Linked DNA regions of Homo sapiens: all the other regions are linked to region 1. The links are contacts of gene promoters, found by promoter capture Hi-C in blood cells and fetal thymus (Javierre and others, 2016). All regions are on one chromosome and are shown on one strand. Each heading gives the region's core, a stretch centred on a gene start or on the middle of the fragment in contact. The rest is flanking DNA. Distances are from core to core; before and after follow the strand shown. Region 1 holds the start of CTNNBIP1-AS1 (CTNNBIP1 antisense RNA 1). Region 2 overlaps KIF1B (kinesin family member 1B). Region 3 has its middle 53 kb from the start of LINC02606. Region 4 overlaps SLC25A33 (solute carrier family 25 member 33).

Region 1 (7,413 bases), core at 1,977-4,476:
AAAAAATTAGCCGGGCGTGGTGATGCACACCTGTAATCCCAGCTACTCAGGAGGCTGAGGCAGGAGGATCGCTTGAACCCGGGAGGCAGAGGATGCAGTGAGCCGAGATTGTGCCACTATACTCCAGCCTGGGTGATAGAGCAAGACTCCATATCACACACAAAAAAAAGAAAGAAAAAGGAAAAAGAAAAAGAAAAAGAAGGATTGTGGGCATATCTGTCTCAGTCAGAGCCAGGCGGACAGCAGGCTGGACGTGGGCCCGGCCATACTTCTTGGAAGAGGTGTTGGGTTTGGGTGAAGGAGAAGCTGCTGCAAAGAGGAATGGCTATTTAAAACCACAGTGAGCCAGACCCTCCGAAGGCATCAAGACGCGAGTCTTGAGAAGAAAGAGGGAGGTTCCCAAGGGCCACCCCGCCTCTGGCTTTGGTAACTCTGGAGCAAGGGCTGTGAGCAGCGCTGAGCCCTGCTCCAGGTCACCTGGGGCCTCGTCATGGCTCACCTGTCAGCTGTGTAGCCTTGAGCAAGCCTCTGAGCCTCACCCTGGCAGCCCTGCCTTGCAGCCCTACAGCAGGGTTGCAAGCCTTGTCCCCAGCCAGGAGGCAGGGAAGACCAGAGGGGAGGAAGACTTCCTCGGAAGTACTTTGTCCTCAGAGAGTGCCGCGATCCTGGTGGGCGGGGGCTCCAGCTTGGCCGCAGCCTCCTTGCTTGTCCTGTTCGCAAGCCAATGCTGCAAGCCCCATCAGCGATCCTTGTCGCCTTATCTGCAGGTGCAGAGGACGTGGTGATGGCGTTTTCCAGGTCGGAGACGGAAGACCGGAGGCAGTAGCTGCAAAGCCCTTGGAACACCCTGGATGCTGTTGAGGGCCAAGAGATCTGTGTGGCTCCTGGGCCGGCTGAGTGGCAGCAGCCCCCCTTGCCCCACCTCCCCCTTCCCCTACCCAACCCTGCCCTGCCCCACCCCACCTCACAGCTACTCAGTGGGGCTGGCATCAAGGGAGACACCAGTGGTGCGTTTATAATTGGCTTAAAGGGATGGACTTGTGATTGGCTGCAGGAAGAAACTTTTTTATTTTTTAAATCTTGACCAACAGAAACCTTTTATTTTTATTTCTGACTCTTATTTTTTAAAAAATTTGCGCCTCGGTATCTGGCTTCCCTGGAAGCTCTCCGAGCTCTGGTGCTTTAGTTAGGTCATTTTTTTAGAAATGTGAAGAGGTCTGATTGGCTGCTTAAACTGGAAAGGATCTGTGATTGGCTGGTTAATGGGAAACGGTTTTTTTCTTTGGCTGCAGGTGTTCTGCTGATATCAACAGCTTCCCTATTTTGAATGCAGAAAACAGGGTCTGGGACATTAGTCGTTATATTTGACTTGAAAAGAAAGAAACCAAGTGCGCTTTGCAATATTTATTACACAAAGAACTTGCTGCTGCCTTCACATTTGGGGTTTGTGTTTGATTGGCTTTCGATGCGTGTGTTTGGTTTCCCATTGGTTCACCTGTGACTCCTGTTGCCATGGATTCACCCCCCTCTGCTGCCGGCTCTGGGCCTGAGGGTCCACCTGGAGAGTACATTTGCTTTAATGAGTGCACCTGCCTCCACCAGCAAGGGGACCCCGAGAACCCTGAGCAGGGTCCACAGCTGGAAAGTTGGGCCCCTGAGGAGCTTTGTGTCGTCTTGAACGAGCAGCCCAGGGCCTAGAGGTAACCGTTAGGCGGGATTTATGTGCACTGCCTGCATGAGCTGGCAACCAGCCAGCGTCCCTTGGTGAGAAAGGGATTGCTGAGGCACCGTCCAGGCCCCACCGGCCAGGCCGCGCCCAGCAGAGGCGTACTACCCAGCTCTGTCCTCTTGGCCATCCTTCTGTGTACCACTTCCTGAGGCCTCATTTTGGGGGTCATCTTGGAAAGGGGAGGAGCTTCTCCCAGTGTGAGACCCCAAAGACTCTGGAGGTCATCTGGCGGAGGTCTCTGGGAGCCCAGAACCCACATAAAAGCCCCAGCTTGGCTCACAAGGCCCAGGAGACCTCCAGCTAAACACCAACCCCTGACCTACCCCAGCCAGGCTCCTACCTGTCTGCTGCCAGCACAGTAGGTCCCGGCCAGCTCTGGAGTTCTCTCATCGGAGGCCCATGCCCTCCACTCCACTGCCTTTGGAAGGGTCTCTCTCCAGGTCAGCCTGGAAGGGACAGTATCGTTTGTTTATGAAATGCCACTGGGACAGCTGGCTGGGCCTTCACCAAGCAAGTCCCTTCAGACTGGCCCTTAAGCCAAACTCAGGCCCAGAATTGCAGTTCAGAATGGCAGTCCTGGAGGCAGGGGGTGAGGGGCAGGTCTAGTGTTCCTGCACCAAACCTAAGTCCTTCCACCTGCCACCCCCTTCCCTGGGAGGGAGGTGGTCCTCCTATCTCCCTGGCTCACTGGCAGGTGTGGGATCTGGGGAGAGCGGCTGGAGAAAGATGCAGTCCTCAGGAAGGGGGCCGCCACCCTCCCCTATGCTGGTAGATGCTGAGGCCCCTAGGTGCCCAGGGCCAGTGGGACCCTCTCAGAACCAAATCTTTCCCCTTTCTCGGGGCTTGGGGCTCGGGCCGTAGGGGCTCCTGAGTGTCATGAAGTGCACAGGAGCCAAATGACCGAGCCCTGGAGAGCCCCATGGTGGGTAGGTGGTTCGTGCTGTGCTCTGGCACCATCAGCCTGTTCCAGAAGGAGGATTCGAGCATCAGGCTAAGACCCTGTGTCCTCCACCATGCACTCACCCCTAGCCCTGGTTAGCTGACAGTCAGCTGTGGGGAACACAGCTACAACCCTACCCTGGCAGGGACCTGAGAGCATCTCAGGAGGGGCAGCGCATGTGTGCATGTGCTGTGTGAGTGAGCACACCCGTGTGCACACTCATACACATGTGCACACACACGCACTCTCCCCGCTCAGGGGCCTGGAGGTCTGGCTGAGCCCCTGGGGAAAGGTGAGTTCTTTCATCTCCCTCCTCCAGGTCGGAGTGCCTGGAGTCAGGTGTCGAGGCCACATTGCTGGCTGCCCCCTCTTTGTAGCTCCTATAAAGGGCCCACACCTGGTGGATACCTGGTTGAGTGTGTGGTCTCTGCCCCAGCCTGTCCTTGTCACGATCACAGGCCTTGCTTTTGTAACAATGATGACCCCGGCCTGTCTCATCTTCTGAAGAGGAAAAGTCAAAGTGTTGCTGTGGCTCCATATTTCAACTAAAAATATATCTGTTGGAGAAAGAAATTAACAATAAAGAATTTTCATAGGTTCGTGTGTGAGCTGAGCTGGTTTCTCCCTCGGAATCAGGCGCTCTGACTGATTTCCCCACATCACGTGGGCTCTGCTGCTGCGGGGGCCCCTCCTTCCCAGGGAGGCGCAGCCAGGAAGGACAACACCAAGTTTGATAAGTGTCTGTGACCTGAGTTGAGCTCAGGGTTTGGAAGAATTTCTAGATCTACCCAGCCCAGCTCAAGGGTCGTTAAGAAGGTTGAACCTTCTTTTTGACCTGGAGATTCTAAACATCATTCCAGATTCAACTGAGATCAGTAAGCTTCAGAGGCAACCTCGTCTTCCACACCTATGAAAAGACACTAAGCACTCCGTAAGGATGTGGGGACCCCGCCATCCTAGGCACCCCAACATCCTGATGTGATGGCACCAGTTTTAAAATGCTTGTTACAGACACCCAAACAGAATATCTGTCCCTTCCACCATCCCAGAAGTGGAAGATATATTGGTTTTTAGCTGTATGTACAAGTTTGGAAGCTGAAATCATTTCTGCTTCAATAATTTTTGCTTCAGAAGCATTTTCTAGAAATTTTCATTTCCACCCTTCATAATCCCATTTTTGGGTCTTTTTTTTTTTTTTTCTGTTTACATAGTCTCACTGCTTCTATTTCCTTTTCAAAGAATTTCACTGGGTCCTAGAGGCTATGGAGTTTACAGAATATGAGTACAATGGCACAACCAACATCATTAAGTCTTTGTGTTGGGGGAGATACTGGGTCTTGTAGCAGCCCACGCAGTAGCTAGATGCACAAGCCCCTCTGAAACATTTCTGAAAAGACCTTGTCCAGGCTTTGCTTGAATACTCTCTCGAGTTGGGGAGCTCACTACCTCACAAGTTAGTCCAGACCATGTTCATGTAACCTATGCTTATCCTTACATTAAGTTGATCTGCCTCTTTCTGTAACTTCTTGTCCAGAAAGGAGTTTGCAGTCATTGAGAGAAAGACAGAGATTGCTGTGTTAACCAGAAGTTACATAGAGACACACATCCAAGGGTCCGTGGTAGGTAGATTATGTGCAGATTCCACCCCTTGCCCAGCGCTCTGAGTGACACTGTCAGCCTTGTAGTTAATCAGCTCTTCTAAGCTGAGCCACTGAGTAGTTCAAGGGACTGACCGGCTGGCCCTGGTCCCACCTGCCCAGCCCCCAGCAGAGAGCTTGGAAACCGGAGCCAAGCGGGGTCGTCCTCCTGGCGCTGTCTAACCTGTCTAAGCTGCCTAAACTGTCATGGGAAGTAGGCCACGTAAATGAGTCGGGGACACTTCAGCAGGCAAAGGAAAAACACTGGGGACAGCCTTGGGTCTTTCGGGGTCCGTCAGCCCACACAGCAGGCAACCTCCTGGGTCACCTTCCCAGGTACGGGATGGGGTAATGACCCCAACAGGCAGCGCTGGGACTGCTGCAGCCAGAGACAGCAGGGGGCCAGGCTGAGCCTGCGGGGAAGGAGGCAGAGCTGCCGGAGACAGCAGGGGGCCAGGCCGAGCCTGGGGTGGGGAGGCTGAGGGCTGTGGCCCTTGGTGTTTCCCAGCCTTGGGGGGCGGGCAGTTGAGAATGAATGAAGCGCTTCTTCTCCCTGTCCCTGCAGGTGAATACCAGCACTGAGAATCCAGGCGGGCCCCAGCCTTTGAAGAGGGTCTTTTTAGCAGGGAATATGATCCCTTCCATTGGTGGTAGGGGGAACTCTGGCCCCAGGGGACCCCTGACACCACCCAGGTGCCGCCTTTGCTTGGGCAGGGCAGGTTCATTTCTCTCTCTCTCTCTCTCTGTCTTTATCTCTCTCCCTCCCTCTTCTGGGTTGCCCATGGCCACCCAACCCTTTTCATTTCCCGAAGGATAAAATGCACCCAGACTAACCGACTAACCTGAGGCTGTGCTGAGAAAACGTTTCCCCGCTCTGCACTGTCCACTGAAAGCACTTGATCTTCTGGGAAACAACTGATGTTCAGGAGATTTGGGGGGACTTGCAGGGCGAGTCCTATTAGGACTTTCTAATTTGAAGAAAGTCCTTCTCAAGGGACAAGGGCAGTGAAATGCCTTTTGAATATCAACTAGTGTCTTGCTTTCACTTTTCTCCCTGACATTGGAACTTCCCCATCACAGATGGTTCCCAGAAGGGCCTTCCAGTCCTGCCAGCACGGAAGTCATGAGCGTTCTTGATGCAGGGACGAGCCACGCCCTACCCACCCTGCCCCTGCTCCTCTTCCAGAGCCCCTAGGTTAGGGGTGTGTGCAACAGGTGGTCGTCCCTGTTTGCACACCTGTGGGAGCCCCGCCCCGCCCTGCGCAACCCCAGAGGAGGTGACTTCAGACCCAGAGCCTCTGAGAGTTTCCACTGCCTGACCCTTGGTCTTGACCATGCTGCTTCCAGTGGAAGGAGGTGGATCTTCACAAACATCTTTGACAGGTGTCTCCTATGTCTCGGTCTTTTTTTTTTTTTTTTTTTTGAGACAGAGTCTTGCTCTTGTCACCCAGGCTGGAGTGCAATGGCATGATCTCAGCTCATTGCAACCTCCACCTCCTCGGTTCAAGCAGTTCTCCTGCCTCAGCCTCCTGAGTAGCTGGGATTACAGGCACCCACCACCACACCCAGCTAATTTTTGTATTTTTAGTAGAGATGGGGTTTCACCATGTTGGCCAGGCGTGAGCCACCAGGCCCAGCCGTGTGTCCCAGTGTTAACAACACAGCTAATGTTGACTGGATGGTACCTGTGTGAAGGCGCATGCTCAGTCACGTGCGAGGTATGTTCCTAGGCTGCCCCGAAGCTCCCTGGGTCTGTCTGAAGCCTCCCATGCGGACCTAGCACTTCACCTCCAAGCTAAGCTGATTTTGCCAGAGTTCCTCTTCCACTTTAAATCTTCGAGGACTGTTTGACCCCACAGCCTAAATCTTTATGTCCACATAGCTGGGGGCTGGGGAGACATCATGGTTTAGAGTGGGAACTGTGGAGGCCAACTGGAGGCAGGACTGAATCTGTCACTTGGCAGCTGTGTGACTTGGGGTGAATGATGAACCTTATTGAAAAAAATGGAAAAAATAAGAGCATCAGGGCCAGAGGTTGTTGGTGACAACTAATGAGATGATGCATATGACACGCTTAGCAGAGTGACCTGCGACCAGTGGGGGGTCAGGACATAAGGTCATTGTTAAGTCACCATAGTGGGTTCTCTCCACCCCATCCTCTCTACTCAAAAGTCACACAGAGCGAGGACTTGTCAGCAGCCTTTGGTGTGGGGAGGAGCACAGCCCCAGGTCCTGCGAGGTGCTTAGAAAATGCTTCTTTGATGAGGATGAAGGAGCCCAGATGATCCCTTTGTAGAAGCCAAGGCCAGAGCTGCCTCCAGCTCCCCAGCCCCTGCCCTGAGCCTCTCCCTCTGCTGAGCCGCTTTGCCTCGGGGACGGGGGCTCACTGGAGCAGAGCCCCTCCGCCTTCCCCAAAACCTGCCAGCTGAGAAGGGTGTCCCCTCAGGGTGGACTCTGTCATGGCTGGACAGGCAGGGAGGGACCTCGGCAGAGCCTGGGGGTGGGAGTCTTGTTTTCCAGGGACCCTCCTGCTCGCCTCGTGCTTAAACTCCAAATAGAATCACAGCCAGTCAGGAAAGGGGATAAAATTAAATCCTTGATCATGATCAAGTGGTTAAAAAAAACCCATCACAGCCAGCGGCTCCTTCTCACTGCAGCCGGCTCTGCCTCAGAGCAAATAGGAGGAGGAGGAAGAGGAGGAGGAAGACAGAGCCATCTTGGGCCCCAGCACCCCTCCCTCCCGGCCAGCCCCTCCTCCTGCCTTCCCAGCCCCCCAGGGCCCCAAGACTCCGCACCCCTCACCCCAAAGATGGGGAGGCTGGGAGGGTGGCTGCTGTGGGGGGAGGCCCACATCCTGCCCAAGGAGGCAGGGCCTGGGCTCCGAGCTCCGGAACTGCAGACCTGGGATCGAATCCAGACTCTGCCAATGACTGTGTCGTGGGCAAATCACTCGATGTTTCCGAGCCTGTTTCCTAATCTGGAACGTGGGAACAGTCATGGCAACTGCCTCATTGGCTGTTGTCTGGATTCAGTGGGTGGGCACCGGCAGTGGTGAGCCAAGGGTGGGGGGACACGGACGGGGGAGCAGCCTGCCTGGGGTTCAGGCA
Region 2 (7,413 bases), core at 1,274-3,773, 430 kb before region 1:
TGCCCGGCCCACACTGTACTTTTGAAGTAAGTAAAATGTCAAGGGAAAAGGTAGGCTGATTAAGAAAGAAAAAGCAGAACCTCTTTCTTCATATAAAATCTTTTTCAGCCTCACATGAAAATTAAAATGAAAGCATCTGACATATTCAATTATCAAGCTTAATTCACTTTAGTGTTAAAGAGTTTTTCGGCAAGCCTTTTACCTATTAAATGTGTCAATGTGTCACTGTTCTCTATCGTCCTTGCATGAATGGCAGTCAAGGGGAATACCAAGTGACTGTGAAGAAGACTGCTGGCTGGCAGCATGACTGCAACTTCTCAGACTCTTAAAAAGTGTTTTTTGTCCTCCCTGTGTCCCCTACCCTAGCACTCTTGAACACAATGGCTAAAAGGTATGGGTCAAACTATCTTCCTGGAGGTGACAAGTAGGGAAAGAAAAAATATTTGCTTCAAAGCAGATGATGCTGTCACAGTCATCTGATGGGTGGCAGGATTCCTGAACAGCTTTCAGCACTGCAGGTGACAACTGTCTGTGCACTGAATTAATTGAGGAGGAAGAGAAGCAGCTATGAGTCAGAAGGCTCTGCTGCTCTTAACTTTCATATTCATACAAAGAGATAAGATCGAACCTGACAGAGCCAGCAAGGGGCTGGGAAATACCTCCAACAGCAAAGCTGGGAGCCATAGGCCAGTAATCTGCATACATGCAGCACTATGGCCCTGTGACCCCATGGGTACCAGCATAGGAGGAGATAACCTTCCTGTACAGTAATCATAGGGCATCAAGGCTTTCTGTGAACTTCTAGAAGATATAATTTAATAACTATCTGAATAAACCTGGAACAGCTACTCAAATGTTCTAACTTTATCTTTTTTTTTTTTTTTTTTTTTTTTTGAGACGGAGTCTCACTGTGTCCCCCAGGCTGGAATGCAGTGGCACGATCTCGGCTCACTGCAAGCTCCGCCTCCTGGGTTCATGCCATTCTCCTGCCTCAGCCTCAGGAGTAGCTGGGACTACAGGTGCCCGCCACCACGCCCGGCTAATTTTTTGTATTTTTAGTAGAGACAGGGTCTCACCGTGTTAGCCAGGATGGTCTTGATCTCCTGACCTCGTGATCCACCCCGCCTCGGCCTCCCAAAGTGCTGGGATTACAGGCGTGAGCCACTGCACCCGGCCCAAACTTCATCTTTATTAACAGAAGCATGGCTCTACACAGAATTCCATCTTTCAATGAAACCACGTTTCCAAATAAATTTCTAACAAAACAATTACACTGTAACTTGATGTACTATCCCAGAATTAACGTACACATCTATTAATCTGTTACTCTGCCTTGCCAGCCTATGAACTGCCCATGCACTTCTCCCAACTCTGCCTGGCCATGTCAGACTCAGGCATTCTAATGAAAAGAAATTAACTTACAAAGCACAAAATTCAATTTTCAGGACACTTCTAAGAGTCAAAGAGTTCTCCATATGCTGAGTCGAAATCTTAGTGATTTTTACTCCTAGTTCTTCCTTGTGGAGCTACATAGAATACCTTGTATTCAGTCTGAACTATTACTTACCTTTAAACGTTCAATAGCTTCCTCTCCTCCAGGTGTAGACATGATCCTCTCTTGAATACTGGTCACAGACGTCAAGCCCACCTGACTACTGAGTGAGCAGGAAGATGGGGATGAAGTGAGGGACCCCATGGATGCTGTGGAAAAATGGCCAGGGCGTTGATTCTCAGAGGCTAGCAAGTATCTATGCTTATTGTTCTGAAAATCTTTCAGATCTGGGAGATAGAAAGAAGAGAAGGCAGGAAAAGTAGGGAAAAGGGAAAGAAGCAGAGGAAGAAAAAAAGACAGGAAGGAATATCGTTGTAAGAAAGGACAGCATTAAAGCGCCAAGACCAAGACACGCTATAATACAAACACAGGTTACAACTGTTCTAGATGGCAGTTCTAAAACATGTCTGTCTTTAATAGTGGTATCCTACAGGTTCAGAATCATTTCTGCATTTACAAACTAAAAGATTCCAATGTAGGTTAACGCTGTATCTCGCAGGGGGATAAACCAGAGCCTCAAAGGATACTGCTTAGGCACTCTCCCTAAAAAAGCCAAACTACCTTCCATTTAGTCTTTCTAGTGTTCCTAGTCTACAATGTCTTCAGATTTACACTTTTCCAGTAGTTTGTAACAGTAAGGGAAAACAATGATCATTTATTTATCAATAATAATCCATATTGGTCTGGCTCAGTGTTACGTGTAATTCAGCAAAAATTTCCAAGAAAATGTTACAGTTAAAACAAAATTTGTGCACTGAGTAGTATGCTTTGTATGGCAACATTTCAACATGCTAAAAGGATTTTTAATATGTCTTAAATAAAAAAGGGGTAATTATAGAAATGAGAGGAATTTTGTATAAGTCCTGGTTAAAAACTCAGGACTAATTGATTGCCTCAACAGGGAAGAACAATTAGCAGATTAATGAGTTTTAGTGCAGGTTCCATTCTTCTGTCAGAGCAAGCAAAAAATAAGGCTGATTATTTGCTAATTTAAGGCCCTTAATTAGCCTAACAGTACAACCATGGGTCACTGCTAAGCCTGCTTCCTAGTATAAAATGCAAGTTTTAGGAACATACTTCCATTTACTAAGTCTTTAATAGAACTGTTAATTTTGCTTTTACACTCAGTATTGGTAAAAGAAAAAAAAATTAAGCCACAAACAACAAAATTAATTAATTTGCTGTTTGTACTTTCTTTCATTACTTTCTTTCATTAGTCATCCTTTGCAAAAAGATACCAAAGGTAAATCTTAAGTATTGGTGCAATCCAACTTTAAAATTAGCTTATTTTTAAACCTGAGAAACTAAAATTCATATCAAAACTAAGTCAGTTTTCCTCAAAGGAGATGAGTCAATACACATAGCTGGAAAAAAATACTATTAGTTCTCCCTGGGCTTACTCATCTCTACTATTTAATTAAAGCCAGTTTTTTAACTCCCTTAAAGCCAGTGGTTGCTTCAAGACAGTTTGAAAACCACCATCTGCAAATACAGAACATAGGGCAACAAGCAAAGAGGCATCTTTTAAAAGGGGGATAGGGATTAGAGCAAAAAATTAGCCATTGGGAGAAAAGACCAGGATGGACAGAGTTTAGGTCCAATGGTCACATGCAAGCCCTAAAAGGAATAAAGAGAAATAGATCAAAATGGAAACTGAGAAGGAGTCAGGGCTGCTTTCCCTCAGGAATACAGAATTAAAACTTAGTCATGCATGGTCTTTCAGGAAATGCCGCAGCTGCTAAGAAAAGAGGTAGGCAACAAGCTGGCAGCAGCAACACCTTGAGCACAAAAGCAAAAAGAAGAAGGCACCTTTTCCACACCAGTATCGTTGAGCTTTGGAAATCTCAGACAGAGCTGTTGCAGTCCAAGAGTCACTTCTGTATCAGGACATTATAGTGCCTTTAAGCCCTAACCTCATAACCACAGCCAGGGCTATGTTTGGTTTCTCCTATGCATTTTCTCACTGTCTGCCAAGCCTCATTACATGCCTTACTGTAGAAATAAGCAACTCAGGTGGCTGGGCTTGATGGCTCACACCTGTAATGCCAGCACTTTGGGAGGCCAAGGCAGGAGGATCACGAGGTCAAGAGATTGAGACCATCCTGGCTAACATGATGAAACCCCATCTCTATTAAAAATATAAAAATAAGCTGGGCGTGGTGGTGCGCACCTATAGTCCCAGCTACTCGGGAGGCTGAGGCAGGAGAAATCGCTTGAACCCAGGCAGCGGAAGTTGCAGTGAGCCGAGATTCCGCCACTGAACTCCAGCCTAGCGACAAAGCAAGACTCCATCTCAAAAAAGAAAAGAAAAAAGAAAAAAAAAGAAATAACTCAGTACAAATCTAAAAATTAGCCCCAAAATCAAGACATTTTTCTTCTAAGATAACAATTTCTTGATGAATTACCTTAAAAGGGTAAGAAATAATTTCCTCACCAACTTAAGATATATGTGGAGAGAATAATGAGGTTCATGTGACTCTTTAAAAATGTTTGAGTCATTTTAGACACCTAAGTTATTTTAATTTGTGACTTATGAAAAGAGGAATGGTTGGGTGTGGTGGCTGACATCTATAATCCTAGCACTTTGGAAGGCCGAGGCAGGAGGACTGCTTGAGGTCAGGGGTTCCAGACCAGCCTGGGAAACACAGCGAGACCCCTCACCTCTACAAATAAAAAATTAAAAAATTAGCCAGGTGTGGCAGCGAACAACTGTAGTCTCAGATACTCAGGAGGCTGAGCTGGAAAGATCACTTGAGCCCAAGAGTTCAAGGTTACAGTGGGCCACGATCATGTCATTACACTCCAGCTTGGGTGACAAGAGTGAGACTGTCTAAAAAAAAAAAAAAAAAAAAAAAAAAAGGAAAAAACGTTTATCTAATCATTCCGAGGCCCAAGTTATGGAGAAAAGCAACTTAGCACAAGCACTCATGAGTCTTAGCCCAACATCTACAGAGCTCTTAAATCATAGATAGTTTTGCTGACTAAAAATGATTATTGGTAAAAGGAACATAATAAAATATTTTCAGAGCCATTAACAGAATTAAAAGGGACAATATATTCAAGGTGCCTAGAATAGGGCCTGGCATATTATGCAAAATCAGTAAGTGTCAGTTGCTATCATCTATGATTTTTGGATTTAATTGAATCACAATGGGAAAAACTGAAGAGTAGAAGCAGCAAGAGATTCTTAAGCCTTTCAACTTCACTCAAGCCACAAACTGAAATTCAGCAAAGATTAGTTTGCTAAATGAAGAAGGGCAAAAATAGGATCATTTCTGATTCTATACTATGCTCTGTCTGGGATTTCCCTGTAAGGATTGCCAGCATGCAAAGCTTATTTTAAGGCTGATCCAGCAGAGGCAGATTAGCAAGTCAGAGTACTGGAAATAACCAATATGTGAAATACACACATTTGCTTCCACTTCCAGAGTAATCATCGATCAATGGATCAACTGAAGGTAAGCAGGAGGGAAAATACGAGAAGGGTCAAAGTTCAGGTTCAGCAGTGACACAGAGAGGGAACAGAGCAGTTTTTGGCATTTGGGGAGATGGAAAAGTTAATACTTAGAATACGGTATCATTTTTACAAACGGTATTCATCTAAACTCGGACTCTAATCAATAAGAAGAATTAAACTAGAAGAGGCCTTGAAAATCTTATTAGAACTTCAAGGAATATAAGTTTAACTTTACACTAAAAAAAAATGCTTTACTAAACTAACCCATATTCTACCATATTCTATTCCTATATGAATCCATTTTACTCACTTAAGAGAACTTCTGAATAAGCCACTGGATAGGCACATCACGGAGATTTTTTAAGATAAATTTTAATACAACATTGTAAAACAATACTCTCTGGAAGTGTAGTTCTTGAACTTCATAGGAATTGAACTTTTCCCCTTCATATGTTCATAGGCAGCACGGGGCACTCCAGCATTTTACAGGAGGAGGGGGCCATTCAAAGGTGAATCTTATCTGAAGGTAGGCTTGAATGGTGCGTTTCTTATATTACTGCCACGACACTAATCCAGAGCAACCCATGAAACAAAACTCAAAATTTCAAATAACATTTCTATGAAGTAATTAATTGCTCAGTGATAACAGGTTTAACGTTCCAAATAAACTTCATTGCTGATCTAAAACAGAATTCTAACAAAAATACTAGTGACATATTTGCGATTTAAAACTAATTTCCTGAGTTCAAATGGATAGTCTGGTACACATTACATAAAGGAATCTAGAGATCATTTCCATTGGGTTTTTTAAGGAAAAAGAAAACAAAACAAAACAAAACATTTTCACTACCATTTAGCTTCATCATGCTCCTTAACTTGAAGTTTATTTTAAATATAAGAACGCTGAATAAGAACCCTGAAGAAGAAAGGATTAGATTTTGTAACGATCCTTAATTCACTTACTATCAATAATATCTCCCAGGCCCTGAGCACGAAGAAGGTCCTTCAGCCGTGTCACCTCCTCCTTTAATTCACGAACCAGTTTGGCATTGGGGTCCTCATTGATAACAGCATTGCATTTAATTTGTTTTGCACGATCTGCATATCTAGATCCAAAAAGAAAATTTGTTCTTGTCATTTCTCATATGTTCTACTTCTCATAAGTAACATACTATTATCTCTAAATCAAATATCCTGAGTGTTTACATTTTATGAGCCTTGATAATAATACATTTGTATAAAGCTTTATAGTACCTATTAAAGATGAAGAAAAAGGCTCAGATGAATTTAAGTGATTTGCCCAAGATCACAATGGAAATAACAGCGAGAGGACTTAAACCCAACTTATGAGACTGTATAGTGTTTATTCCATTACATCAAGTGTCTTTCATGGAAGAAGGGTAGAGAGTTCCAGACTAAAGTAATGAAACCTACTCATACATAAAAAAATACAGGCCTCGGGAGGCAGCTCACACCTGTAATCCCAACACTTTAGGAGGCCAAGTGGGGAGGATCACTTGAGGCCAGGAATTTGAAACCAGCCTGAGTAACCTAACAAGACCCCCCATCTCTACAAGAAATTTTTAAAAATTAGCCAGGCCTAGTGGCATGCACCTATAGTTTTAGCTACTTGAGAGGCTGAAGTAGGAGAATCACACGAGCCCAGGTGTCTGAGGCTGCAGCGAGCTACAATCTTGCCACTGCACTCCAGCTTGGGCCACATAGCAAGACTCAAAAACAAAAACTAACAAACAAAAAAAACTTTTTATGAACATTCTGTTGGTAATTGTTTTTTTCTTTTTTTTTTTTTAAGAGACAGAGTCTCACTACGTTGCCTGGGCTGGCCTCAAACTCCTGTGCTCAAGTGATCCTCCTGCCTCAGCTTTCCAAGTAGCTAGGACTACAGGTGCACACCACTGCACCTGGCTATGTTGGTAATTTTTTAATATTGCTACATATTCCTATAATTTTATTACTTATTATGACTTCAGAATTTATTTTTTTTTTTTTTTGAGATGGAGTCTCGCTCTGTCTCCAGGCTGGAGTGCAGTGGCGCCATCTCGGCTCACTGCAACCTCCGCCTCCCAGGTTCAAGCAATTCTCCTGCCTCAGCCTCCTGAGTAGCTAGGATTACAGGTGCATGGCACCACGCCCGACTCATTTTTGTATTTTTAGTAGAGATGGGGTTTCATCATGTTGGCCAGGCTGGTCTCAAACTCCTGACCTCAAGTGATCCGCCCACCTCGGCCACCCAAAGTGCTGGGATTACAGGTGGGGGCCACTGCGCCTGGCCGACTTCAGCATTTCTATAACGACAAACACTACAAGAAGGGGGACACTTCTTTTTATAGAAATGAATAAGAAAATGTCACTATTACCTAAAAGTTACCCAAAAATCTCACTT
Region 3 (7,413 bases), core at 2,175-4,674, 370 kb after region 1:
ATGTTGGCTAGGCTGGTTTTGAACTCCTGACCTCAGGTGATCCACCTGCCTTGGCCTCCCAATGTGCTGGGATTACAGGCGTGAACCACTGCGCCCGGCCCCATTTGACTGGTTTCTTTTGGGACAGTTTCTTTGACTTCTCTAATTCCTCTGTCCCATGGGGTCATGATGCCTCAACACTTCTGATTTGCCCTCATGTGTACCAGTTTCAGGCCAATGGCCTCCTTTATCTATTCAGCATTCGTAGTTGAAGCCAACCTTAAGAGTGGCTGAAAACATTCCAGATCATCTGGGGTTCATGGGAAAAGTTGGGGCTGGAGATATATGTCTGGGAGTTGTCACCACGTAGATGGCGTTAGAGCCCTGAGTTGGGGAGAGTTCACTTAGGATGTGAAGGTGGGTGGAGAAAACAAGACTCTGGCCTTGAGCTCTGCGCCAGCCAATCTTAGAGGCTGAGAGACTTGGAGGAGGAGGAAGAGGAAGAGGAGAAGGGAGTGGGATGGACAGAGGATCCCAACGAGCACTTACAGAGCATTTACCACGTTCCAAGCACTGGGAGAGGGAGCTGGAGGGCCCCACGCCTGGCCCTCCAGTAGCTTCCGGGCCATTGGAGGAGGCTGAGTAACAAACCGCCACCATCAGACTTGGCAACAAGTTCATTGAGGGGTTAGTTGCTGGGGCTTGGGCAGTAAAGAGAGGTGCATCAGAACCCTACAGGGTATCCAGAGAGGGCTCCCAGAGCCTGAGACACGGGAACTGAGTCTCAGAAAACAAGTGAGTGCTGGAAAGTGAGGGGCAAGGTGATCCCGAGAGCCCACAGGAGAGGCGCAAACTGAGAATTGCAGTTGTTAGATGGGGGTCCATGCAGAGGGGCAGGGGATCCCTGATTGGCAGAGCACTGGGAGCCTTCTGTTTGGGTTTGATCCCATGGGGCTGTGGCCACAAAATCAGGGGTTAGGGGTCAGCAAACTATAGCTTGCAGGCCAAATCCCTCCTGCTGCCTGTTTTTGTACAACTTGCAAGCAAAGGACGATTTTTACTTTTTTTTTGAGACAGGGTCTCACTCTGTTGCCAGGCTGGAGTGCAGTGGCGCGATCTTGATTCACTGCAACCTCTGCTTCTTGGGCTCCAGTGATCCTCCTGCCTCAGCCTCCTGAGTAGCTGGGACTATAGGCGCACACCACCATGCTGGGCTAAATTTTTGTATTTTTAGTAGAGATGGGGTTTTGCCATGTTGGCCAGGCTGGTCTTGAATTCTTGAGCTCAAGCAACCCTCTAGCCTCAGCCTCCCAAAGTGCTGGGATTACAGGTTAAGCCACTGCGCTCGGCCAAATTTATACTTTTCTTAATGGTTGGGAAAATAAATCAAAAGAAGAACAATAGTTCATGGCTGGGCGCAGTGGCTCCTGCCTGTAATCCCAGCACTTTGGGACGCCATGGCAGACAGATCACCTGAGGTCAGGAGTTTGATACCAGCCTGGCCAACATGGCAAAACCCCATCTCTACTAAAAATACAAAAATTAGCTGGGTGTGGTGGCACATGCCTGTAATCCCAGCTACTCGGGAGGCTGAGGCAGGAGAATCGCTTGAACCCAGGAGGCGGAGGTTGTAATGAGGCGAGATCACACCACTACAGCTTGGGCAACAGAGCAAGACTCCATCTCAAAAAAAAAAAAAAAAAAAAAAGAGGAGTAGTAGTTCATGACATCTGACAATGATATGAAAATCAAATTTCAGGCCAGGTTTGGTGGCTTACACCTGTAATCCCAGCATTTTGGAATGCCAAGGTGGGCAGATCACTTGAGGTCAGGAGTTCGAGACCAGCCTGGCCAACATGGTGAAAACTCGTCTCCACTAAAGATACAAAAATTAGCTGGACATGGTGGTGGGTGCTTGTAATTCCAGCTACGCAGGGGGCTGAGGCAGGAGAAAGAGAATTGTTTGAATCTGGGAGGCGGAGATCGCAGTGAGCTGAGATCATGCCACTGCTCTCTAGCCTGGATGACAGAGTGAGACTCTGTCTCAAAGAAAAGAAAAAAGAAAATCCAATTTCAGTGTCCATATATAAGGTTTGATTGGGACAAGGCTTCATCTGTTCAGAAGCTATAGGCAGTGTGTGCTCTCCAATGGCAGAGTGGAGGATTTGCACTGAGACTGGTGAACTGCAAAGCCTAAGCTTCTCACATCGAATCCTTTAGAGAAAAATTGTGGAGGCTTTGTGACATGGTATTTTAGACACCCAGTGGTATTTTAGACACCCAGTGGCAAACAGGACAGACAGAAATTGGGGCTCTTGTGGTTTCCATCCTGGAGGGGGATGCCTCTCTCCAGCATTGCCTCTTTCTGAGGGCAGAGACCACGTGGATGGGATCGGCTCCTGGTTCTAGGATTTCTCCTGTTCCTCTTCCCAGGAGTGGAGTCAGCTGTCACAGGGAGCCGGTGACCCTTAAGGCCAGGACCTGCCGGAGCCTCCCATGTCGCTGCTCGCTCTCCAGCCCTCTGGGAGAGGTGACGTGGGCCGTGTGGGGCCAGTGCAGGGCACCCTCTCTGGCATGGCGTTTATGACGTGGTTGTAACGGGCTCCAGGCCAGGAAAAAGATGTACCTGCTCCTACAAAAGCGAGCCCTTCTCATGAGTGCACTCTCTCTCCCTGGTGGAGTAGCAGTGGGAACATCTTTTACCCAGAGCTGAATGTTATTGTTTTGTTTTTCCTTCAGGGACGAACTGTTCACTCAAGGGCAGGCACCAAACCTTGTTTTCTGGGGAGGGGAGGCCACCTCCCATGGCTCCCCTGCAGGGACTCACATGGTCCTTGGAGCTCTCCCTTGAAGGCTGTGAACAAAGACAGAGCGGTCCAGCCCGGGAGTTCATAGCTCCCTTTGGAGCCCCTTGGCTCGGCCGGCCTCTGACTTCAGGGTTGCTTGGCTGAGCAGGGTGCTCCCAGTGTGCTCCTTGGTGTGAAGATATGCCTGTGTCACTTCCCGAGTGTCCCAGCAGCTGGCTCAGGCTTGGCCACCCTTGCTCAGCTGGAGAGCCCCTCCATCAGCAGAGGCAGCCTTGTCGGTGGCTAACAGCAGGGCCTGGAGCCTGAGTGCTGGGGTACAAATGTCGCTCTGCCACTTAGCAGCAGTGTGACCCGGGCAGGCTGCTTAACCTCTCTGTGCCCTTGTATCTATAAAATGTGGTAATACTAGTGCCTGCCTCGTAAAGCCTTTATGAGAATTAAGCGACTTAGCATCTGGAACATACTTAGAACAATGCCTGTGTGCAGGCCGAAGCAGACCTGTCTAGGACACTAACCCGCTGTGTTGACTTCTGATTATCACCAGTTCCAGGAACGCCTCTGAGATTTTTATTTTGTCTACTGCTCTTGCGTAAGAACATGTACTTTCGGTAAATCCTGCCTTTAGGTCAAAATAACCTTTTGAAAAAATATATTAAAAAAATATAAATAGAGACAGGGTCTCACTATATTGCCCAGGCTGGTCTTGAACTCCTAGTCTCAAATGATCTTCCCACCTCAGCCTCCCAAAGTGCTGGGATTACAGGTATGGGCCACCACACCCAGTCCCAGAACAACCTAGACCATAAGCCCTGCCCTTAGGCAGATTCACTTGGCATGCTTACCTTTCTCTACAATTGTCTTATATATTGCTTCCCTATTGGTGTATAAGCCCTGGGTCTGGGAGGGAATGGCGTAGGGATCCATCATCTTGCCTTGCAGCCGCCTGAAATGATGGCTTCTGTTCCTAAGTCCCTATTAAATTTCCCTTCCGAAGCTGGGTACGGTGGCTCATGCCTGTAATCCCAGCACTTTGGAAAGCCGAGGCAGGTAGATCATTTGAGGTCAGGAGTTTGGGACCAGCTTGGCCAACATGGTGAGACCCCATCTCTATTAAATATACAAAAATTAGCCAGGTGTGGTGGCAGGTGCCTGTAATCCCAGCTACTTGGAAGGCTGAGGCAAGAGAATCACTTGAACTCGGGAGGGGGAAGTTGCAGTGAGTTAAGATCGCGCCACTGCACTCCAGCATGGGTGACAGCGAGACTCTGTCTCGAAGACAGAGAAAAAAAGTTCCTTTCTGAGAAATGATATATCAGCCTCTTTGTTCCACCTCTCAGCTCCCTTGGACTTTGGGGGCAGGTTTGCACAGATTTGCACACTGCAAAACAATGGTGGCACAGAATGTTCCTACGCGTTTTTGTGACATAAATAAACAGAGGGAGGTCCTCAGAGGGACCCTGGCTCTCTCCTTCTCTCTGTTCCCAGAGCACTTTATGAATTTGCTCTTCTAGCACCTGGCCGTTTTGTTATAGGGTCCAGGGTGGGCACTGCCTGAAATATCTGTGCCCCGTCCATTACCTTGCAGAGCACCTGGCTCAGTGTAGGCTCTGGGTAAATGAATGAACGAATGAGACACCCCACCTTCCCCAAATTGGTAGAAAATGTTCCTGGAAAAATGAGTCCCTGTGAAGGAAACTTTGACCATAATTTCCAAAGGAATTTCAAAGCAGAGTCCATGTTTCCAGGGTTGACCAGCACGGCTGCTGGGTCTGGCTGGGAACTTGGAGGTTGGCCAAGTGAGCCCAAAGCGAGCGTGTGGCAGGGAGGGAAGAGCAGGTGCTTGTACGACAGGATGGTGAAGGAGGCTTCCAGAGGACGAAGCTTTGGGCCAGCCAGGACCTGCCCTGCTGAGCCCAGGAGAGAGGCCAGCACCTGCTGGCACTCAGCCAGTGGTGGTTTCCCCCAGGACAGTGTGGAAAGGGAGGCTTGTTCGTTCTTTTAGGCTAAGTCTTAGGAGAGACTAGGTTATTAGAATTTTAAGGGCTGGAGCTGAATGTGGTGGCTCACACCTGTAATCCTACCATTTTGGGAGGCCAAGGCGGGTGGATCACCTGAGGTCAGGAGTTCAAGAGCAGCCTGGCCAACATGGTGAAACTCCATCTCTACTAAAAATACAAAATTAGCCCGGTGTGGTGGCTGCTGCCTGTAATCCCAGCTACTTGGGAGGCTGAGGCAGGAGAATTACATGAAGCTGGGAGACAGAGGTTGCCGTGAGCCGAGATTGCACCACTGCACTACGGCCTAAGCGATAGAGAGAGATTCTGTCTCAAAAAAAAAAAAAAAAATACTGGGCATGGTGGCTCACGCCTGTAATCCCAGCACTTTGGGAGGCTGAGGCAGGTGGATCACTTGAAGTCGAGACCAGCCTGGCCAGCATCGTGAAACCCTGTCTCTACTAAAAATACAAAAATTAGCCGGGTCGGGGGTGCATGCCTGTAATCCCAGCTACTAGGGAGGCTGAGGCAAGAGAATCACTTGAACCTGGGACGCAGAGGTTTCAGTGAGCCAAGATGGCGCCACTGCACTCCAGCCTGGGTGACAGAGAGAGACTCCATCTCAAAAAAAAAAAAAAAAAAGAATTCTAGGAGCTGGGTGTGGAGTGGAGTTGGTCCAGGGAAGTTAAATATGATAGTTGGCTCCGAAGCCCAGCAGCTCCAAGGGGCATGGAGTGCTCTAGAGAAACAACCTTTGCTCCCTGACAAGTCCGTGGTTGCACCAGCAGGGGAGCGGGTCCACCCCAAGGAAACATAACTGGTCTTGCCTGCAGTCCGGGTGAACTATGCATCTCGGTCCTTTGGCTCAGGTCCTCTCTTGGTAGCCAGTTTCCAAGCAGTCCTGGGTCACCCAGCTTGGCCCCACCCATCTGTCCACACCTTAGCTGGCATCCAGAGGTGATGGTCAGGCGAGGGGCCTGACATCACCATCTTTGCTGATCTCCAAGTTAGAATCAAGTGAGGAAGTGGGGGACAGCGGATGACCCTGTCTAACAGCCTCTGGACTCTCACATTGAAAAACACGAATGGGCCGGGTACGGTAGCTCAAGCCTGTAATCCCAGCACTTTGGGAGGCTGAGGTGGGAGGATCACTTTAGGTCAGAAGTTTGAGATCAGCCTGGCCAACATGATGAAACCCCGCCTCTACTAAAAATACAAAAATTAGCTGGGCGTGGTGGCATGCACCTGTAGTCCTAGCTACTTAGGAGGCTGAGGCAGGAGAATCCCTTGAACCAGGGAGGCAGAGGCTGCAGTGAGCTGAGATTGAGCCACTGCACTTCAGCCTGGGCAACACAGCAAGACTCCGTCTCAAAAAAAACACAACAACAACAAAAACCCATGAATGCAGTCACTATGAGAGCGTCAGATAGACTTTGGGTGGTGTTGAAACACCTAGTCAGATCACTGGGGCTGGGGGGAGTGAACTCCACCCCTCCTCCAGCTGTTGGTGTCAGAGGTCTCCCTGTGAGCCGCTGCAGGCAAGGGAGCAGGGGCCTCCAGAGGTTGACCTCAGCAGAAGGAATACTCATCTAATACTGATGGCTGCAGTATTAGAAATTGCATCCTTAAATATGGGACAGAATGGGAACTGGCCGCTTGCTCGGATAAAGGCTGCTGGCATAAATTTAAACTCTGTATCTTTGGAGAAAACTTGGAAAATAACCTCTTTTTTTTTTGAGACGGAGTCTCGCTCTATTGGCAGGCTGGAGTGCAGTGGCGCGATCTCAGCTCACTGCAACCTCCGCCTCCCGGATTCAAGCAATTCTCCTGCCTCAGCCTCCTGAGTAGCTGGGACTACAGGTGCGTGCCACCACGCCTGACTAATTTTTATATTTTCAGTAGAGACGGGGTTTCAGCATGTTGGGCAAGATGGTCTTGATCTCTTGACCTTGACCTCGAGATCCACCCGCCTCGGCCTCCCAAAGTGCTGGGATTACAGGGGTGAGCCACTGAGCCTGGCCTTTTTTTTTGATGGAGTTTTTGCTCTTGTCACCCAGGCTGGAGTGCAGTGGTGCAATCTTGGCTCACTGCAACCTCGGCCTCCTGGGTTCAAGCGATTCTCCTGCCTCAACCTCTTGAGTAGCTGGGATTACGGGCGCATGCCACCATGCCTGGCTAATTTTTGTATTTTTAGTACAGACGGGGTTTCACCATGTTGGTCAGGCTGGTCTTGAACTCCTGACCTCAGGTGATCCACCCGCCTCGGCCTCCCAAAGTGCTGGGATTACAGCGTGAGCCACCATGCCCGGCCAATAACCTCTCTTTTAAAACAGTGTTCCAAGGCATTTTGTTCATTCATTCATTCAACAAAGGTGAATTGAGGTCTTACTATATGGCCCAAGCATGGTACTGGGCAGCCATGGCCAGACACACACCTTGCCCTGAAGAATCCCAGTGTGGCTGTGCAGGGGGCAGACGGGAGACACAGACAGATAACTGACAGGAGCCTGAGGGCAACTGCTGCGAGGAACCACGCATGGGGTTGCGGGGGTCCGGGAGGCCACCTTCCAGATGGAGGAGAGGAGGGCGCTGAGTCAGGGAAGGCTTTTTGGAGGAGGTCACGCCTGAATCGA
Region 4 (7,413 bases), core at 2,072-4,571, 270 kb after region 1:
CCACCACGCATGGCCAATTTTTTTGTATTTTTTTAGTAGAGACGGGGTTTCACCGTGTTAGCCAGGATGGTCTCGATCTCCTGACCTCGTGATCTGCCCGCCTTGGCCTCCCAAAGTGCTGGGATTAAATTTTTTTTTTTTTTAATGTTGAACTAGGATATTTAAACAATCCCAGTGCTTTCTATCAGAATGTGAGCTCTCTGACGGGTGAGCCATAGTCCTACGTTGTGCTCCTTTTCTGCAAGAGCAGAGGTCCAAGAACAGGGCTAAAGACCTCAGTGGGAATGACTGTTCTTCATCACATTCTGGATTCACAGCCAAACAGGGTAGCTGTGCTGTCAACACACTTAACAAGGCAACTGGTCTTAACTTCCGGAACTATATCCAGGAGCCAGGCCATTGATAAAACAGTTCTTTAAAAATTCTTGCCTTTGGTTCAAAGTAGGGAGAAAAGGATAACTTCAGGAAGTTTTTTATAGCTTAAAATATTGAGTCTCAGAAAGTTATATATATTCATCTCAGCAGTCTGAACGCTTAGATGATCAATCTGCAAGTAATTGGAAATGTACAAAGAAGAAAAATTGCTGGGAAGTTTGTCCTGGTCCACACACCACCACCAAAATGTGACACAATTTTTTTTTTTTTGAGATGGAGTCTCACTCTGTCGACCAGGCTGGAGTGAAGTGACGTGATCTCAGCTCGCTGCAACCTCTGCCCCCTGGGTTTCAAGTGATTCTCCTGCCTCAGCCTCCCAAGTAGCTGGGATTACAGGCACACGTCCGGCTAATTTTTGTATTTTTAGTAGAGACAGGGTTTCGCCATGTTGGCCAGGCTGGTCTGGAACTCCTGACTTCACGTGATCCATCTGCCTCGGCCTCCCAAAGTGCTGGGATTACGGGCGTGAGCCACAGTGCCCAGCCAAAATGCGACACTTCTTCCCTGTCTAGCAGTGCAAGATCTTAAAGTCAGATTATAAAACAAGTTGTATTCTCACTTTATCATTTTTCTCTGCAGTTCTAGGGCAGGTTTATCTGAATTACTTAAGTCCTTCATAGTATAGTGAGCATAAAAGAGGACACAAGCCAAATGTATACTTAAATTAAATAGCATGATTTAATTTAGTTGGTGCTTAACCCTGAATCCTCTTAAGTTAAAAAAAAAGTTATAATTAACTATTAACGTTAATGAATTTAAACCTTCCAGAAAGCATGAATCCAAAAGGAAATGTCCAACAGGTGATATGAACCAGATATTTTATGGCCTTTCCTGTTTCAGTCTCAAACTTTCTAAACATCAATGGGGAAAAAAAATTCTCTAGAGTTTTTCAGTTTTATTCTTCTAGAGCACAATTTTCCGGCCTGTTACTGAGTACGGTCTTCTAACAGGTACACAATTAACTCATAAGTAGACAACACAATGGCAGTATTTGGGATCTGCCGGATAAGCTGGGCAAACAGTCCTCTATAAAAGGCAAGGTAGCCTTCTTCCCGGAACACCAGGCGCGCCGTCTGGACAAAAGACTTGTACTTGGTGCCCTCTTCCCGGAGCCTCGTCCTTATGACTTCTGCAGAGAGAGAAAGACCTACTTTACGCCACATATTAAATGGGGAACGAATCCACAGCACACAACTTTAAAACTGTCAAGGTTAGGCCGGGTGCGGTGGCTCACACCTGTAATCCCAGAACTTTGGGAGGCCGAGGCGGGTGGATCACTTGAGGCCAGGAGTTGGAGACCAGCCTGGCCAACATGGTGAAACCCCGTCTCTACTGAAAAACAAAAATTAGCCAGGCAAGGTGGTGCACGCCTACTACTAGAGTGGCTGAGGAATGAGGATCGCTTGAACCTGGGAGGTGAAGGTCGCAATGAGTCGGGATCGTGCCACTACACTCCAGCCTGGGCCACGGAGCAAGCAAGACTCTGTCTCAAAAAATAAATAAATAAAATAAAATTGTCAAGGTTACAACTGTGTCTATTTCCCACCTCAGCTGTATTTGGACAGGAAAGTCACATAACCTAGAGAGACAATGAAAAATTAAGTTCTTTTTAGAACCTTTTCCAACTCTAGGATTTGGTCAACTATGGACACTTACACATACACGAAAGTACAAAATAACTTTTTTTTTTTTTTTTTTGAGGCAGAGTCTCACTCTATTACTCAGGCTGGAGTGCAGTCGGTACGATCTTGGCTCACTGCAACCTCTGCCTTCTGGGTTCAAGTGATTCTCCTGCCTCAGCCTCCTGAGTAGCTGGGATTACAGGCACCTGCCACCACACCCAGCTAATTTTTGTATTTTTAGTAGAGACGGGGTTTCGCCATGTTGGCCAGCCTGGTTTCGAACTCCTAATCTCAGGTGATGTGCCCATCTTGGCCTCCCAAAGTGCTGGGATTACAGCAAAATAACTTTTAAGGGGTTAAAAAAAGCTTAGTTTCAATGAGACTTAATGTTAAAATAATTCATGGTTTTCTACTCCCAATTAAGCAAATGCTAATTTGTATGAAGTATGGCAATACCTTCAACGAATTCTTTTCTTATATTTTTCAGTTTCCTCCTCCTCCTGGAAACGTTTTCTACTCTGCCCAGCTCAAAAGCCACCCTCTCCTTTGCCAGCCTTTGCCCACCTGGGCCTCCTTCCCAGACACCTAGAGTTGGACATTCGTCACTCCTGCCCTCACACAGACCTCAGACCCTGGGAGGCATCACTGACCTCTTTCCTCAGATGTCCTCTGGGGTCAGCTTAGTGCTCCAGGACACAAAGGGGACTCAGCACCTGTTACTGAGTTGACTGTATGCATTTGCCATAGCTGACAGTACAGAAGGCTTATGAAAATAAAACCTGTTTTTCATGGCACAATAAACTAAGCATTTTTTAAAATAAGTAGGCCAGTAGGTCAAGAATTCTATAACTCAAAAAAATAAACTTACCCAAAGTAGCCTTAAGGCTCCATTAGAAATAGAGGCTGAATGATTATTATTATTATTATTATTATTATTATTTTTTTTTTTTTGAGACAGAGTCTCGCTCTGTTGCCAGGGTGGAGTGCAGTGGCTTGATCTCGGCTCACTGCAACCTCCACCTCCCGGGTTCAAGCGATTCTCCTGCCTCAGCTTCCCAAGTAGCTGGGACTACAGGCGTGCGCCACCACGCCCAGCTAATTTTTGTATTTTTAGTAGAGACGGGGTTTCACCATGTTGGCCAGGCTGGTCTCAATCCCTTGACCTCATGATCCGCCCGCCTCAGCCTCCCAAAGTGCTGGGATTACAGGCGTGAGCCACCGTGCCCCGCCGAGGCTGAGTAAGTTTGGCTCCCATATTATCATTTTGATTCAAGGAATATTAAATACAATCCAGATTTTTAGCTTCCTTGAAAACAGCAAAAGTTCAGCAACCCAGGACCTGCGTTTCTGCACAACAAGTTTTGGCTATAATCAGCTGGATTTGAGTAAGGTCGAGTTCCCACCACTCACGTGACCTCTGTCCATGCGGTTAGAGCTGTTTCCCTCATACTCACTGACCTTACCTGCAGGGATCCTGCGCCTCAATGTGCGCCTCAGAAGTCTAGATATACCCACAAACAACAAACGTGACAGCTGTTTTACTGCTCTGGAAGAACAAAAGCAAAACATACCGTGTGGATAAGCAATGCAGGAGGCACAGCCCTTAGAAAGAGCAGCAGCTGCCATAAGTCCAAAAAAACTTGTGGAATTTTTCTCAGTCCCATTTGCAGAAGAGGCTAATGGAGCTTCTTTCAGATACTTCTTTAAACTTTCATAAATAGCAAAGCAGATTATAGTTTCGGAAATTCCAGCATACGAGGCAGTTAATCCTCTATAGAAGCCACGAATGCCTTCGGTCTGGTAAACGTAACGAGCACACTGGAGTGTATTCATCTGCTTAGAGCCCCTCACTCTGCATAAAAGAGACCAACACAGGCTGTTAAGGAGACATATCATGGTGGAACACAGACATCACACAGTAGGAGAACAGGTACGGGTCTTCCTTATGGTGTTAGGATACTTGTTTCCTGGCTCCTAACTCTCATAGCCCTTGTCTTTCGTTATGTGGGGTGTGTGAGGCCGCAGGGGCAGCCTCTGACAGTCCCTTGATCTCCTTTCACCTGCCCCAAGGCCATCCTCTAATGTCCTTACCTTGTTGGTCTTACTCCATGAGAGTCCCCTCCTATCTCTGGGAGAAGGAATGCTGCTGACATGAAGCTTCCAGAAAAACCCAAGAGGACAGGGTTCAGGGAGCTTCCAGAGCTGATCGCATGGAGGCTCCTGGAGGGTGGCCCCCGGGGAGGGTATGAAAGCTCCACGCCCCTTACTCTGTACCTGGCCCTACCTGTCTCTTCTTCTGTATCCTTGCGATGTCCTCTATAACAAACCAGTAAACATTAAGTGTTTCCCTGAGTTCTGTGAGCCACTCCAGCACATTAATAGAATCCAAAGAGAGGGTCATGGGAACCCCAACTTGAAGCTGGTCGTTCAGAAGCTCTGGAGGCCCAGACATACAACTGGTGTGTGGGTAAGTGGGTGGGCGGGGGGTGGGCAGTCCTGGGGACTGAGCCCCCAATCTGTGGGGCTGTCTCCTGGTAGACAGTGTCGGAAGTGAATGAGAGGACACCCAGCTGGTGTCCGCTGTTTGGTGTGTGTGGGGAAAACCCCCTACACATTTGGTCACAGAAGTCATCTTCTGTGTCAATGACTGTTGTGGTGTGACAGTGGAGGAAAAACATGGTTTGAGGAGAGTTTTTCCCACATATCTTTGTACTGTTGTCAGCTGACCTCCAGCCCACTGTGAGGCCAGACCAAGTAGCTGGCACACCTGACAGGCCCACAGAACACTAGCTACATCTGTATCAAGAGTCATAGAAACATGTTCATAAAAACATTAGCATTTGACCTAATTTTAGAAAGAGCTGCAGGGAGCAGTAAGGCTCATCACAGAGGAACTACAACTGCAAAACAATCAGGACAACAATCCAGATAGCTGACCACGGTATATCTGCTAGATTAAGTCACAAGGCCGTGAGACACAGGGAATGCTTTCAGTGGAAAACAGGACTAAGTTAAAGGTAAAGGATGATCACAAGGGCTGGGAGCAGTGGCTCACACCTGTAATCCCAGCACTTTGGGAGGCCAAGGCGGGAGGACTGCTTGAGGCCAGGAGTTCAAGACCAGCCTGGCCAATGTAGTGAGGCTCTATCTCTACAAAAAAGTAAATAATAAGAAAGAAAAATAGGAACATTCCAACCTGTTGGTGAGGCTACTTATTAGATTTCTGATCACACTCGTCTCCAAATAGATTCTATTATTGCTAAATTTATAAAATCATAAAACATCAAAATAAAACAGCAAATGAAAACCATGAGGTTTAGAGGCTCCTACCCCAGGACAAAAAGCATTTATGAACTGCCTGGCTGCAAGGCAAGAGTGAGCCACCAGATGAGTGTAGTTAGGTGTGCACCGGTCACACATCACAGACCCCTCCGAGCGGGCGCAGACCTGGGGCCCCTTGGGCTTCAGTCTCAGCTGGCCTCTCTCCCTTCTTTATTATCTCCGCATAGACTGTTCCCGCTCCTTAGCGGCAGTGACCTTTCTAACACAAATCCAACCATGCAACTCCCGTGCTTAAAACCATCCAGAGGCCGGGTGCGGTGGCTCACACCTGTATTCCCAGCACTTTGGGAGGCTGAGGTGGGCAGATCACGAGGTCAGGAGATCGAGACCATCCTGGCTAACACGGTGAAACCCCGTCTCTACTAAAAAATACAAAAAATTAGCCGGGCATGGTGGCGGGCACTTCCCAGCTACTCGGGAGGCTGAGGCAGGAGAATGGCGTGCACCCGGGAGGCGGAGCTCGCAGTGAGCTGAGATGCACCACTGCACTCCAGCCTGGACAACAGAGTAAGACTCTGTCTCAAAACAAAACAAAACATCCAGAGTTTCTCACCCTTGGCGCTATTCACATTTGGGGCTAAACTATTCAGTTTGGGGAGAAGCAGGCTGTCATGTGCCTTGTAGGGTTTAGCAGCATCCCGGCCTCTATTCACACTAGGCACCAAAAACACTCACCTAAGTTGTGGCAACTTCAAATGTCTCCAAACTTAAATGCTGAATGTCCCCTGGAGGGCACCCCCTACCTCCATCCTCCATTTCCCCTGAGGACCACTGCTCTGATGACTTTCCACTGCCCTCAAAGCCCAACTCCAAACTCCCTTTCAGGCCTGGGAAGGATCGGGCTCCCCTGCTCCTCCAGCCTTATTCTTCCATAACTCCCTTCTCCAGCGCAGATGCACGTACTACACGCCAACTACACTCCCTGTCTTACGGCTCCCCAGAACTAACCATGCTTTCTTTTCTTTTTTCCTTTTTTCATTTTTTTGAGATGGAGTCTTACTCACTCTGTCCCCTAGGGTGGAGTGCAATGGTGCAATCTCAGCTGCAACCTCAACTTCTGGGTTCAAGCAATTCTCCTGCTTCAGCCTCCCTGGGATTACAGGCTCCCGGGTTCACGCCATTCTCCTGCCTCAGCCTCCCGAGGCATGACACCACACCCGGCTAATTTTTGTAGGACAGGGTTTCACCATGTTGGCCAGGCTGGTCTCGAAATCCTGAGCTCAAGTGATCCGCACACCTCGGCCTCCCAAAGTACTGGGATTACAGGTGTGAGGCACCGAGTCCAGCCTAACCATGCTTTCTTGACTCAAGATTTCTACACTCACCTTCTCTCTGCCCAAAAGACTCTTCTCTGCCGCCCCCACCTGGCTATTCTTTTCTTCCCAAATCAATGTCTTTTATGGCATCATTTAAATATCACCAATAGGTCTTAGGAATCATCCAGCATGTTGTTTCTGTAGCGGGACAACTCTTAGATCTTATTCATCAGCCTGCTGAACAGTTCCTTTTTCAGAGACATAGATACCATCCCCAAACTTCCTGATATCCTTAACTGTTGTGGCTTGCTGAATCAAGGCAACTGAATTTGAAACAAGCTCGATGTCATTTCCTTCAAGGATTAAATTCATCTTTCTAGGCTTGAGATACTGAACAAGCAACACCTGGTCTCATCTGAACCCTGCGGGTGTATTTTTCATCCAAGAAATTTCGGATTTCAACAAGAGACCCATCCTCCTGGATAACAATGTCGGTGGGGAAGTGAGCATACGCAGACCTCATCTTGTAACAGAAGCCCAGTGTAACACCCTTGATCGTGTTCTGCACATAACTACCAACAGTTCGAACGGTAGCCAGTTCCTTTCTGTTACCCCACCGTGTGGCACTCCAGAGCCTCTTTAGACTGAGTTCTACATTGATGTGACTGAAGTCCCTCTGCATGGTTCCTCTGGGGCCATTCACAGTAACTGTGCATCTCTTCAGGGTAATGTTGACATTTTCTGGAATGACAACAGTC

Evidence for each region. Contacts are between HindIII fragments. The CHiCAGO score rates a contact against its expected background, and 5 or more counts as called.
Region 2: a contact is called between a fragment that was not itself captured here and the fragment with the promoter of CTNNBIP1-AS1 in region 1, in 1 of 17 cell types (neutrophils). The highest score is 5.3, in neutrophils.
Region 3: a contact is called between a fragment that was not itself captured here and the fragment with the promoter of CTNNBIP1-AS1 in region 1, in 1 of 17 cell types (neutrophils). The highest score is 5.2, in neutrophils.
Region 4: a fragment that was not itself captured here is called in contact with the fragment with the promoter of CTNNBIP1-AS1 in region 1 in 2 of 17 cell types (neutrophils and non-activated CD4 T cells); the score reaches 8.0 in neutrophils.

What each region holds. Positions count from the first base shown.
Region 1 is chr1:9,844,131-9,851,543 of GRCh38, reverse strand. CTNNBIP1-AS1 (CTNNBIP1 antisense RNA 1) reads right to left here and starts at 3,226. Exons shown (of 3, transcript NR_199045.1): 1 at 3,078-3,226; 2 at 2,070-2,175; 3 at 1,390-1,558. CTNNBIP1 (catenin beta interacting protein 1) reads left to right here. Exons shown (of 6, transcript NM_020248.3): 6 at 768-3,268. The coding sequence ends at 826. It overlaps LOC105376717 (a long non-coding RNA gene), which reads right to left and starts at 879. Exons shown (of 2, transcript XR_946952.3): 1 at 500-879. RefSeq lists enhancers at 1-286, 1,322-1,371, 1,452-1,591, 2,726-3,227, 7,289-7,413. The HindIII fragment of the contact is 10,320 bases long and covers 1-3,551 here.
Region 2 is chr1:10,276,688-10,284,100 of GRCh38, reverse strand. It overlaps KIF1B (kinesin family member 1B), which reads right to left. Exons shown (of 49, transcript NM_001365951.3): 13 at 5,973-6,115; 14 at 4,963-5,004; 15 at 1,568-1,779. Among named protein-coding and RNA genes, the nearest start is that of KIF1B, 70 kb to the right of the region's middle. RefSeq lists an enhancer at 739-788 and a silencer at 4,744-4,944. The HindIII fragment of the contact is 4,728 bases long and covers 160-4,887 here.
Region 3 is chr1:9,478,480-9,485,892 of GRCh38, reverse strand. No RefSeq gene overlaps it. Among named protein-coding and RNA genes, the nearest start is that of LINC02606, 53 kb to the right of the region's middle. RefSeq lists a silencer at 2,857-3,057. The HindIII fragment of the contact is 2,490 bases long and covers 2,180-4,669 here.
Region 4 is chr1:9,576,450-9,583,862 of GRCh38, reverse strand. SLC25A33 (solute carrier family 25 member 33) reads right to left here. Exons shown (of 7, transcript NM_032315.3): 6 at 3,629-3,909; 7 at 1-1,564. The coding sequence ends at 1,362. It also overlaps the pseudogene RPL9P11. Among named protein-coding and RNA genes, the nearest start is that of TMEM201, 8.8 kb to the left of the region's middle. The HindIII fragment of the contact is 1,791 bases long and covers 2,426-4,216 here.